Regions from separate parts of the Homo sapiens genome. Here region 2 is linked to region 1. The links are contacts of gene promoters, found by promoter capture Hi-C in human tissues and cell types (Jung and others, 2019). All regions are on one chromosome and are shown on one strand. Each heading gives the region's core, a stretch centred on a gene start or on the middle of the fragment in contact. The rest is flanking DNA. Distances are from core to core; before and after follow the strand shown. Region 1 holds the start of SGCB (sarcoglycan beta). Region 2 has its middle 37 kb from the start of LRRC66.

Region 1 (6,509 bases), core at 2,674-5,173:
AGGGAATGGTTGCATTTGTACAGAACATGTACGACTTTTTCCTTGTCATTATTCCCTAAACAATACAGTATAACAACTGTTTACATAGTGTTTACATTGTGTTCAGTGTTGTAAGTAATCTGCAGATGGATTTAAAGTATACAGGAGGATGTGCAGAGGTTACATGCAAAAACTGCACCACTTTATATAAGGGACTTGAGCATCAATGGATTTGGCTATCCTTTGGGGGTCCTGAGACCAATCCCCCATAGATATTGAGGGACAACGGTATATATTTTCATTTATATGAAAATAAGACCGGAAAGGCTGACATAGTTTGTTACTTATAATTTCACTGACTAGAGCTCACATTACCCTAGATCAGTAGTTTTCAAATGCAGGGTGGGGAGTCCTGGGAGGGTTCCACAAACCCTTTGGGGGGCTGTATTTTTGAAATAACACTGAGATACTGTTTGCTGTTTTTACTCTCCTAGGCCCATGAATGTAAAGGCTACATGACCAATGTGATGGCATCATCACTCAACAGAATGTATGCTTGTATAGCCCTGTACTTTAAAAATTTCTCCATTTTAACTTCTCCTATAGTAAATATCAATGAATATAACCCACATAAACCAAAGCTCTTTGGAATCCTCCATTTTTTAAGAGTGTAAAGAGAACCTGAGACCAAAATGATTTGAGAACCTCTGACCTAGACTATGGTTGAATGACATTTTGGGTAATAATCTTGAATATCAAGAGCACAAAAGAAATGGGCAGAAATGGATACTGTCCTACTTATTTCTTAAAGCTCTGAGAAAATTCAGTTGTTGAATACGCATGTATTAAGCACTTTACGCTTAAACACTAATTCCATAGATAGGAATACAAAAGAACTATAGGAAAGGGTCCTTATCCTCTATGTATTAACAGATATGATTTGTGTACATGTTAACATAAAATATTTAACAATGCAATAAAGCACTCTGTATGTTCAGGTGCCAAAATCAATAGTCTAGGCAATACACACTGCAGAGTTCAAAGGGAGGAGAGACAGGATGACCTGGAGTTGTTAGGGAAATGGGGAGAAGTAGATGGGTCAGATATGGCAAGGCAGGGAAGAGGAAGTTGGAAAAGTAGGGCCAGGTTGTGAAGGTTCTTGGACAGCAGGGTACAAATTCTAGTCTTTATGTTCTATTTAATTGGGAGTCACTGGAGGTTTTTGAGCACAAATTCAGAGTGTTAAAGGTGTGGGCATTTGTACGAGAGAGAAGAAAGAGGAGTACCAGTAAGTAAGCTGCTGGGGATGTTGTAGTAATGGAGGATTGAGGTTAAGAGGACCTAAACTAAAGTGGGATGAAAAAGGAGAGATTAAGTAGATACTTTAAGAGAAGACTTAACAGAATTTGTAGTCAGGTTCCAAAAAAGAACCTCAGGCTTCTGACAGCCCTAACAGATGGGCAACTTAAAAGTGTTAGCCAAAGTTTGAATATAGGTCCACATAAAAGAGAGAAAGGACAAAATTCATCCCTCCTGAGACGTAGTCTTTACTCTTCTCTGCCAAACCATGCACATTACTGTCTTCATCTTGATGCATTTAACATTTATTGAATAGTTACTATAAGCCAGGTGCTCCAAGCTACCAGGATGAACATAGTGTCCACCCTCAAGGAGCTTAATTACAGGCCAGTCAGGTAGACAGACAAGGTGACTAACAGTTCACAAAGCATGACAAGTGCTGTAGTGGAGCAATGCATACAATACAGAAAGGGTACAGAAGAGGAATGCATCTCCACCTAGCAGGCAAGGGCATCAGGGAAAGTTTCTAAGAAAAGCTGAAGGTTGAGTTAACTCTTGAAGGATGGACAGGAGTTAACCAGGCAAAAGAGCTAAGAAGGTCACTCTAGGCAGAGGAAGAAGCATGGAGACTTTGAGAGGCAACCATCTCTGGGAGAACTAATTTTGGTCACTTTATGTGGATGGTGAGAAGGATAGGTGTAGGGATGAAGCAAGAAATACAATGAGAGATGTGCTTAGGGGCCAGTAAGCAACATAAATACCATGACAAGAACAATGGACTTTATCCTGAAGGCAAAGGGGAACTACTGAAGAGTTAAAATAGGTTTCCTATACAATCAGATTTGCATTGTAGTAAAATCACTCCAAAAAGAGATGAACTGGAACTGAAGAGCCTAGAAGTGAAGATATCAACAGCAGGTTTCTCTAAGAGTCCCAATGAGGTACTGACTGAGGTTTGACTTTGAAGCTGAAGTCTGGGGAAAGGTGTTAAGAGGTAGAACTGTCAGGATCTCGTGATTGTTTGGATATGAGTGTGGCACAAAGGGGTCGAAGATGACTCCCAAATAGGACTGGCTATATAATTTGTGGGGCCCAGGGGGAAAAGAAAATGTGGGGCTCACTGTTTAAATCTCAAGCCCAGGACAGCAGAACATTAAACCAAGTGCAGGTCCTTCTCAGCTCCCTTAAAATGGCCTTGGTCCTAAGTTTCTGGCTAGGTTAAACAAGTGAATGGATGGTTGTAGCCTTTTTAATAGTAAGTATGACAGAGTCCAGTTTTGAACATTTTTGAGTTTGAGGTGCCTATGGAAAATTCAGTTAAGTTCAGGGCTGGAGACGTAATGCGTAAATTTGAAGTGGAGACTGAGTAACGGATCAGACTGCCCCACTTATGTGTAAAGCAAAAATAGAACCAGATGGAAAAACAATCATCTGAAACAGAAGCTGATAACTTAGGCGGGAAATGAGGAAAGCCAAGGCACAATTTAAATACCAACTCCAAGAAGTTTTGTCTCCTTTCAGTTTCACTCATTCCTCTATGTTTTATTTTACTGTTACAAATCTGCAGCCTGCCTATTGTCTTTAGCTGATTTTTTCTGCATGTATTTGGCTGTATGACTTTAAGCTCCTTGAAGAGAGATTTTACGTCTTTTATCTTCAGAATGAGCCCTCCAGTGACATATATCTAATAGGTCTCTAAAAAGTTAATTATCTAAGAAAATCGTTCCAAAGGTCAAAACTTGACTCATTTTTTTCAACAATGTTTTAGAATGAGACTTTTTAAAGAGAAACTACTATAATTGTTCAAAGGAAAAGTAAGTTAGGTAAGGGGGAAAGTTACTGAAAATTATCTGTATTACAATAAATCACCCTAGCGATTACGTGTATGTATATATTAACACACACACATATGCATGTACATGTATGCATACGTATAACTAGATTTTGGGGGGATGAGGAGCCTTTTAAACCATTCTAAGTTACAAGTTTACAATGCAGGTCAGGAAATCTTGGATAAATCATTTTTAAAAGTGAACAGGAGATAGTTTTAGACTGGTGACTAAATCTTCAAAAACCAAAGCGTGAGGGGAAATCTGGGATGTCTGCATATTGGAGATGGCAGAAACAAAAAACAAAGATGGCAAGCTGACACCGGGGCAACAGCTGACCCGTTTCTTGTAAGAGGAGCCTTCTCGCTGGGGCTGCGGTTATTTTTATCCAAATCTCTGCTGGCGGCTGAACGGGGTACGTCCCTGGCACGTCCCAGCGCAGGCTTCCAGGCTGGCTCGACCGCCTCCCAGGCTCTCCGGAAGGAGACCCCTCCTCACCCCCTCCGAGGATCAGCCAGGCCGGGCCGAGCCCGAGGCCGCCCCTGGCTCCTGGTCCCTAGCTTGTGCCAGCATCCTCGGCGGGGCACAGCTCCTCCCGCCCCGCCCCGCCCCGATCGGCCCCGCCGAACCCAGACCCTGCGGCCCGCGCCCCCCGCACCCCCGGCCAGGGCTCCCGCGGGCCCAGCCGGCAGGACGCGGCCTCCCCCGCTCCTCCAGCCCGCGGCCGCGGCGGTACTCACAGACCTGTTCTGCAGCCGCCGCCGCCGCTGCCGCCATCTTCCCGCGCCCGCCGCCGCCGAGCTCCCCGCCCGACTGTGCCCGCCCCTCCGCGACCGCACCCTGCGCGCCTGCGCTTGCGCCCTGGCGGGGACTGGGGGCACCCGCTGCTCACACCCTCCCCTCCCCAGCCCGCATCCCTGACGACCCGCATCCCAGCCCTGCGGGCTCAGGCTCTGCGGCGGCCCCTGCACCTAGGACCTTGGCCTGGGGCGCGTTGTATTGCACAGGGGCCAGAAGGGGCCTATGGGGATTCCGCTCCACCCCGGGCCGCCTGCAGATTCCTCAGAAAGGGCACCCTCAAAAATCGAGGACGCTTCTCCCCTTCCCCTTTGTTCCCCATCGCTGAAAGATCGGTGCCATCCGGAGCTGTGAGGCTCTCTTTGTTTCTCGGACCAAGGTCTCCTTGGCTAGGGTGGGAGGGGCCGATATCGAGACCACAAGTGGACGCGGACCGGCGTGGTGACTGCGTGGGCAGAAGTGAACGAGTGGTCACTTAGGTGGCTGGAGTCTTGAAGACTGAGAGTCCTCAAGGAGGACGTTGAATCCTTCGGGCTGCTTGACTTCGGAGGCCTATGAAGTCTGATGTTTTTATCCTGCGATACTGGGGATGGATTTTTCATTTAGTGTTGGAGATAGTGTTACCATGTATATCCTCGGGAACCTAATTGAACGGACATTTACTGAACACCGGGAAGCCACTCAAATGTACGAGTTACTTGAGTAGACATTCATTGTTCCCTGTTGTAGATATAATCCAATAATTATTTTAGCTGAAAAAAAATGCAGTGAAGTCAATAGCAACTGTTCCTCATGTAGCTGAATCACTTCTAATAAGCACCTTTGGGCCCTAGTACTGTCTAATTCAGTGGGAGTCAGTACCTAGCTGGTCATCAGTCTCTCTGCATTTCTTTTTTCCTAAATGCTGGAACCACTTGACTCATATCTCTAGACTCACTCCTCTCTGAGTCTGTGGGACAAACATGCATTTTAGGCAGGAAAATTCTAAGTTAAAGCCCAATGATGCAGGAGTCAGCAGTAAGGCTCTGTGTTAATATTCTGCCTGTGGTCTCATTGATCAATTTGCACAACTGGGCTTTTAACTGATTCTGAGTTCCTATCTTCTAGTCCTTAATTCCTAAGCTTTGCGTTTTTCTCTCTGCTGGGAAAGTTCTTCTTCCCTGGCACGCGCACTCTTATTCATCCTTCAAGAACTATTCTATTCAAACGTCATATTTTCTCTAAAGGCTTCAGAGGCTCCCACAGATCTGTTCCTTAACTGTGTGCCTAGCCTTTTCTAGCACTTCAGATTGCATTGTATTTTTATCTTGTCTACCTGCTGATTTCATTCAAAAGATGGTGTGTTCTATCTGGAAGGTAGGTGTCTTACTCATCGTTTAATCTCCAATGTCTAGCACAGTAATTAAACTTAATAGATATCTTAGAAATCTGCCCAGTATCCCAATTTCTAAGCCCTGACTTGATTTTGCCAACCTCCCTCCCACTTAGGTGGTGAGATACCTGGTAGCCAATTTTCCTGAAACCAAATGCTCCTTTGGCTATTTGAATATCACCTTCTCTTGGATTCTTTCCTCATCGCTGATGTCCATCTCTGACAGGACATCCCACTATTCTTAATGCCAATTTCTATTCTCTTTTAAAGAGATCCAATTCACTCACATGACCACATTTTAATGTGGGTTATTTTCAAATGTACTATTGTCAGCCTTTTTTCCCCTGAAATAATGACATTTAAAGTCAACTCTGTGCCTGGCAATGCCTCTTTTACAAATGAAGAAATCAAGGCTTGTAGAGGTTAAATGGCTGACCATCTTTTCAACTCCTAAAGAGCCAGTATTGAATCTAGGTCCATCTGACTAGTCTTTGCTCTTTCTACCATACATCACAGCCTTTAATTTTGCTCTTTCTTTTGACTGTTGCATGATATTAGCATTTGGAAGCACAAAACACAGGTCCCCAGGGCTGGAGTATGAGTCAGATTATGAAGACACTTACACCTTTGTTCACTTTGCAGTGGTTTGAATAGTGCCCTGCAAAAAGGCATATCCAAGTCCTAACCTCCAGTATCTGTGAACGTGGTGTTACTTTGAAACAGAGTCTTTGCAGATTGCTATAGAATGAATGTTTGTGTCTCCCCTGAATATTTCACATGTGGAAATCTTAGCCCCCAGTGTGATGATATTAGGAGGTAGGGCCTTTAGAAGCTGACTTAGTCCACTTTGTGCTTCTATAACAGACCATCTGAGAGTGAAGAATTTATAAAGCACAAAAAATTATTTTCCCACAGTTCTGGAGGCTGAGAAGTCCAAGCAGGTTCAGTTGTCTGATGAGGGTCTGGTCTCTGTTTCCAGGATGTTACCTTGAACACCTTGTCATCCTGAGGGGAGGAATGCCAAGCCCCTATGACCTGAACAGCTCTCAAAAGGCAACACCACCCAATGCTGTTGCATTGGAGATTAAATTTCCGAACATGAATTTTTGGGGACACATTCACATCATAGAAGGAAATGATGGGTGATTAGCTATCACTATTCATGATTAGTTCTCATGAATAGGATTAGTGCCTTTATAAAATAGATCCAAGAGAATTGGTTTGTTTCTTCC
Region 2 (6,204 bases), core at 1,623-4,122, 55 kb before region 1:
GCCTCACACCCTGGACCACTGTAGAGGGATAGGGAAAAATTTGTCCATCTGATCCCAAAATGACTTTATGGAACCTGAAGGGTTTTTAGGGAGCAACATTGAAAAGACAATTCATATATGGCATTTGCTGCTCTTCAAGGAGGATAAGGTTTTAACGTTTCATGTTTTGGGTTTGTGCCCAAAGGACCAAGACTTATATAATGGTTTTAGGAACATGTAAAGGTAAATTATACCAGAGATTTTCAAAAAGTATTTCTTGGACTAAAATATACTGATGTGGAATTGTTAGGCTCATAAAAACATGTTTGAGTTACTCTGATAAAGAAATGCAAGGGGGGAATATGTTTTAGTGAAAAAATAAAAAAAATGGAATATGTTTTAAAAGTCATTTGTGTAACAACTAGAGACATAATCGAAACAAGTGAAACTAAAACAGAGGGAAAAACTGGGGTAAAGGGACTCTATAGAACTTAGATAGTTTAAATTTTGAGGCAACTTGAGAGCAGAGTCCAAGGGTGAGACATTTTAAAAATCTGAAAGTGGAAGGCTTCAAATATCACTCACATCAAGCAATTTTAGCCAAGCTTATGGCAGGCATATTGACAAAGATTTTTAAAATTTGTTTTTGCAAGAAACAAGAGGCTTACTGAGAAATCTGCAACACCTACATATAAACTGTGACATTTATGCCATGCTACCAGAAGCTTCTTTTGGAAGTCTAAACAAAACAAACAAAAATAGTGAATGCGGTATATTCCTCTTTTCTCTGTGTTGATGGAATAGGAGGTAATTTTTCACTCTATGAAATACTTACCAGCTCTGAGATGACTTTATGGACTCCACATTGGGAGTAAACTCTTGGCAAAACTGAATTTCACCTGAGTTGGAAGTTGGCCAATAGAAGAGTCTCTAGCAGATCTCAGTAAAGTCATGTGAAGCCCTGTTTCTTCTGTAATACACAAAACGGTACAGTGGAGACCCCAGGGAAGAAGGAAGTGGTAGATTCTACTTGGGTGGAATGAGGTGAGAAAAGCTCATGGAGGAAATAATCCATAAACAGCTTATTCAAAGAAGAGTAGATACTCACCAGGCAGATGAGATGGGACTTGGTGGGGAGGCCAGAGGTACCACCCAGAAAGCAGGCAGCAATACGGGCCAAGACATGGTGAAATGATATAGACTGGTGAGTTTGTAACTGCAAGCAGTTACACTTGGTGCACTGGCATGAACTTTGGATGTTAGGAATGGGGCAAAGCACCATGAAATACAAGCTGGGTGGTAAGCAGGGACAGATGCTAGATGTCCTTGTACACTGTACTAAAGTTTGCTCTTTCATTTATTTAATGAATGCATGTATTAAGAACCTACTCAGTGCCAAGTCTTGGGGAGATAGACACAATTTTTTTGTTTGTGTGGCACTTACAGTATTAAAGGGGCAGACAGACATTAAACCTAATCATATGACTAATTATTTAATTTTACTTGTGATAAGCTCTCCTATAGAAAGGCCAATGCTGTGTAATGACAGAATTTGTAATAGGGAAATCTAACTTAGTGAGGCATCTGAGACGTCTTCCCTGAGGAGGTGACAACACAGCGGAGACCTAAGTGGGAGCGTGTCAGCTAAAGGAGGGCTTGTTTGTGAAAAAGCGCTTTGGGCAGGAGGAACATGGGCAAGGGCGGGGAGATGGACAGGCATGTGTATAACCAAGTACCCCCTCTTTTCTAAGAGAAAAAGAATGGGTTATGTTTTATTGTTTTCCTTCTTTTCTCTTTCCCCCTTTTCCCTTGTTCCTCACTTCTTAGCTCTTTAGAAATGAAATTATAACCTTTACCTTCCCTTCGCCAGACACTTCCTACAGAGCAAGCTTATCTATTAGGTTGGTGCCAGAGTAATTTGGCAAAAGTAATGGCAAAAACAACAATTACTTTTGCACCAACCTAATAACTATGCACCAGAGAGGGAATTCTCCCACCAGGAGATGGCCTCAAGAGACAACAGTCAATTTACAACCTGAAGTGCCCCGCAACAGAGCTCTCTTTCACCTGGAGTGGATCTCAAGACAGTGGCCACCTTACAACCTAGCTCTGCCCACGATGGTGCCAGCTCGGTAGTTATGGCATCAAAGCGAGTCATGCAGACCCTACACCTGCTTTCTCCCTCTCCTGCATGCCATTCATGCCAAGTCCCTGCTTAAAAGCCTCTGCTTTCTGCCCAAAAGTAAAGTGATATCCTTAAAGGCAGGAGCCTGTACTTCTTCCCCTAAGCTATGCTGTGGAATAATGTCACTTTCTTTATACCAGACTCAATCTTGTTAATTGGACTCTGCAGGTGGTGAGTGACCGAACCTGTGTTTCAGTTACATGTGGAGCTTTAGGGAAACAGAAAAACCTATAGCCAATGGATGGACTCTACTCAGGGAAGCCACATAATCATATTTGCATTTTAGAAACCACCCCCTGGCTGCAGTGTGGGGAATAGTAAAGGGATGTAGGGCAGGAGGTGTGATCGTCAATTTTATGTGCCTACTTGATGGGTAAGGGATGCCCAGATGGCTGGTAAAACATGGTTTCTGGGTGTGTCTGTGAAGGTGTTTCTGGAAGAGATTAGCATTTGAGTCAGCAGCCAAATAAAGCTTTCTCTCACCTATGTGGGTGGGCAGCACCCAATCCATTGAGGGCCTAAATAGAACAAAAAGGTGGAGAAAAGAGGGCTTTCCTCTGTCTTATTGAGCTGAGACATTATCTCCTCCTGCTCTTAGACATCAGCACTCCCGGTTCTCAGAGATTTGTTTTCTGTTGTTGTTGTTTGTTTGTTTGTTTTGTATACAGGTACCCAGTGTGGTACACAGATTTTTATTTTTTATTTTTTTATTTTATATATATGCATATACTTTATATACATATATATTATTATACTTTAAGTTCTAGGGTACATGTGCACAACGTTAATGGTGTGCTGCACCCATTAAGCCTTCATTTACATTAGGTATGTCTCCTAATGCTATCCCTCCCCCTTCCCCCAACCCCACAACAGGCCCTGGGGTGTGATATTCCCCTTCCTGTGTCCAAGTGTTCTCCTTACTCAATTCCCACCTATGAATGAGAACATGCAGTGTTTGGTTTTTTGTCCTTGCAATAGTTTGCTGAGAATGATGGTTTCCAACTTCATCCATGTCCCTACAAATGACATGAACTCATCATTTTTTATGGCTACATAGTATTCCATGGTGTATATGAGCCACATTTTCTTAATCCAGTCTATCATTGTTGAATATTTGGGTTGGTTCCAAGTCTTTGCTATTGTAAGTAGTGCTGCAATAAACATACGTGTGCATGTGTCTTTATAGCAGCATGATTTATATTCCTTTGGGTATATACCCAGTAATGGGATGGCTGGGTCAAATGATATTTCTAGTTCTAGAACCCTGAGGAATCACCACACTGTCTTCCACAATGGTTGAACTAGTTTACAGTCCCACCAACAGTGTAAAAGTGTTCCTATTTCTCCACATCCTCTGCAGCACCTGTTGTTTCCCAACTTTTTAATGATCACCATTCTAACTGGTGTGAGATGGTATTTCATTGTGGTTTTGATTTGCATTTCTCTGATGGCCAGTGGTGATGAGCATTTTCCCATGTGTCTTTTGGCTGCATAAATGTCTTCTTTTGAGAAGTGTCTGTTCATATCCTTTGCCCACTTTTTGATGGGGTTGTTTTTTTCTTGTAAATTTGTTGGAGTTCTTTGTAGATTCTGGATATTAGCCCTTTGTCAGATGAGTAGATTGCAAAAATGTTCTCCCATTCTGTAGGTTGCCTGTTCACTCTGATGGTAGTTTCTTTTGCTGTGCAGAAGCTCTTTAGTTTAATTAGATCCCATTTGTCAATTTGGCTTTTGTTGCCAATTGCTTTTGGTGTTTTAGACATGAAGTCCTTGCCCATGCCTATGTCCTGAATGGTATTGCCTAGGTTTTCTTCTAGGGTTGTTATGGTTTTAGGTCTAACATTTAATTCTTTAGTCCATCTTGACTTAATTTTTGTATAAGGTGTAAGGAAGGGATCCAGTTTCAGCTTTCTACATATGGCTAGCCAGTTTTCCCAGCGCCATTTGTTAAATAAGGAATCCTTTCCCCATTTCTTGTTTTCGTCAGGTTTATCAAAGATCAAATAGTTGTAGATATGTGGCATTATTTCTGAGGGCTCTGCTCTGTTCCATTGGTCTATATCTCTGTTTTGGTACCAGTATCATGCTGTTTTGGTTACTGTAGCCTTGTGGTATAGTTTGAAGTCAGGTAGCGTGATGCCTCCAGCTTTTTTCGTTTGGCTTAGGATTGACTTGGCAATGTGGGCTCATTTTTGCTTCCATATGAACTTTAAAGTATTTTTTTCCAATTCTGTGAAGAAAGTCATTGGTAGCTTGATGGGGATGGCATTGAATCTATAAATTACCTTGGGCAGTATGGCCATTTTCAGGATATTGATTCTTCCTACCCATGAGCATGGAATGTTCTTCCATTTGTTTGTATCCTCTTTTATTTCATTGAGCAGTGGTTTGTAGTTCCCCTTGAAGAGGTCCTTCACATCCTTTTTAATGATCACCATTCTAACTGGTGTGAGATGGTATCTCATTGCAGTTTTGCTTTGCATTTCTCTGATGGCCAGTGGTGATGAGCATTTATTCATCTGTCTGTTGGCTGCATAAATGTCTGCTTTTGAGAAGTGTCTGTTCATATCCTTCGCCCACTTGTTGATGGCATTGTTTTTTTTCTTGTAAATTTGTTTGAGTTCTTTGTAGATTCTGGATATTAGCCCTTTGTCAGATGAGTAGATTGCAAAATTGTTCTCCCATTCTTTAGGTTGCCTGTTCACTCTGATGGTAGTTTCTTTTGCTGTGCAGAAGCTCTTTCATTTAATTATATCCCATTTGTCAATTTTGGCTTTTGTTGCCATTGCTTTTGGTGTTTTAGACATGAAGTCCTTGCCCATGCCTATGTCCTAAATGGTATTGCCTAGGTTTTCTTCTAGGGTTTTTATGGTTTTAGGTCTAACATTTATGTCTTTAATCCATCTCAACTTAATTTTTGTGTAAGGTGTAAGGAAGGGATCCAGTTTCAGCTTTCTACATATGGCTAGCCAGTTTTCCCAGCACCATTTGTTAAATAGGGATTCCTTTCCCCATTTCTTGTTTTTTTCAGGTTTGTCAAAGATCAGATAGTTGTAGATGTGTGGTATTATTTCTGAGGGCTCTGTTCTATTCCATTGGTCTATATCTCTGTTTTGGTATCAATACCATGCTGTTGTGGTTACTGTAGCCTTGTGGTATAGTTTGAAGTCAGGTAATGTGACGCCTCCAGCTTTGTTCTTTTGGCTTAGGATTGACTTGGCAATGTGGGCTCTTTTTTGGTTCCATATGAACTTTAAAGTAGTTTTTTCCAATTCTGTGAAGAAAGTCATTGGTAGCTTGATGGGGATGGCATTGAATCTATAAGTTACCTTGGGCAGTATGGCCATTTTCACGATATTGATTCTTCCTATCCATGATCATGGAATGTTCTTCCATTTGTTTGTGTCCTCTTTTATTTTGTTGAGCAGTAGTTTGTAGTTCCCCTTGAAGAGGTCCTTCACATCCCTTGTAAGTTGGATTCCTAGGTATTTTATTCTCTTTGAAGCAATTGTGAATGGGATTTCACTCATGATTTGGCTCTCTGTTTGTCTGTTGTTGGTGTATAAGAATGCTTGTGATTTTTGTACGTTGATTTTGTATCCTGAGACTTTGTTGAAGTTGCTTATCGGCTTAATGAGATTTTGGGCTGAGACAATGGGGTTTTCTAGATATACAATCATGTCATCTGCAAACAGGGACAATTTTACTTCCTCTTTTCCTAATTGCATACCATTTATTTCTTTCTTCTGCCTGATTGCCCTGGCCAGAACTTCCAACACTATGTTGAATATGAGTGGTGAGAGAGGGCATCCCTGTCTTGTGCCAGTTTTCAAAGGGAATGCTTCCAGTTTTTGCCCATTCAGTATGATATTAGCTGTGGGTTTGTCATAAATAGCTCTTATTATTTTGAGATATGTCCCATCGATACTTAATTTATTGAGAGTTTTTAGCATGAAGGGCTGTTGAATTTTTTCAAAGGACTTTTCTGCATCTTTTGCGATAATTATGTGGTTTTTGTCTTTGGTTCTGTTTATATGCTG

What was found. Contacts are between HindIII fragments. The study calls those that stand out against the background at their distance.
Region 2: a contact is called between a fragment that was not itself captured here and the fragment with the promoter of SGCB in region 1, in 1 of the 25 tissues and cell types used here (bladder).

What each region holds. Positions count from the first base shown.
Region 1 is chr4:52,034,376-52,040,884 of GRCh38, forward strand. SGCB (sarcoglycan beta) reads right to left here and starts at 3,924. Exons shown (of 6, transcript NM_000232.5): 1 at 3,852-3,924. The coding sequence starts at 3,884. RefSeq lists an enhancer at 3,337-3,456 and a silencer at 3,697-4,136. The HindIII fragment of the contact is 15,508 bases long and covers 1-6,097 here.
Region 2 is chr4:51,980,497-51,986,700 of GRCh38, forward strand. No RefSeq gene overlaps it. Among named protein-coding and RNA genes, the nearest start is that of LRRC66, 37 kb to the right of the region's middle. The HindIII fragment of the contact is 3,172 bases long and covers 1,287-4,458 here.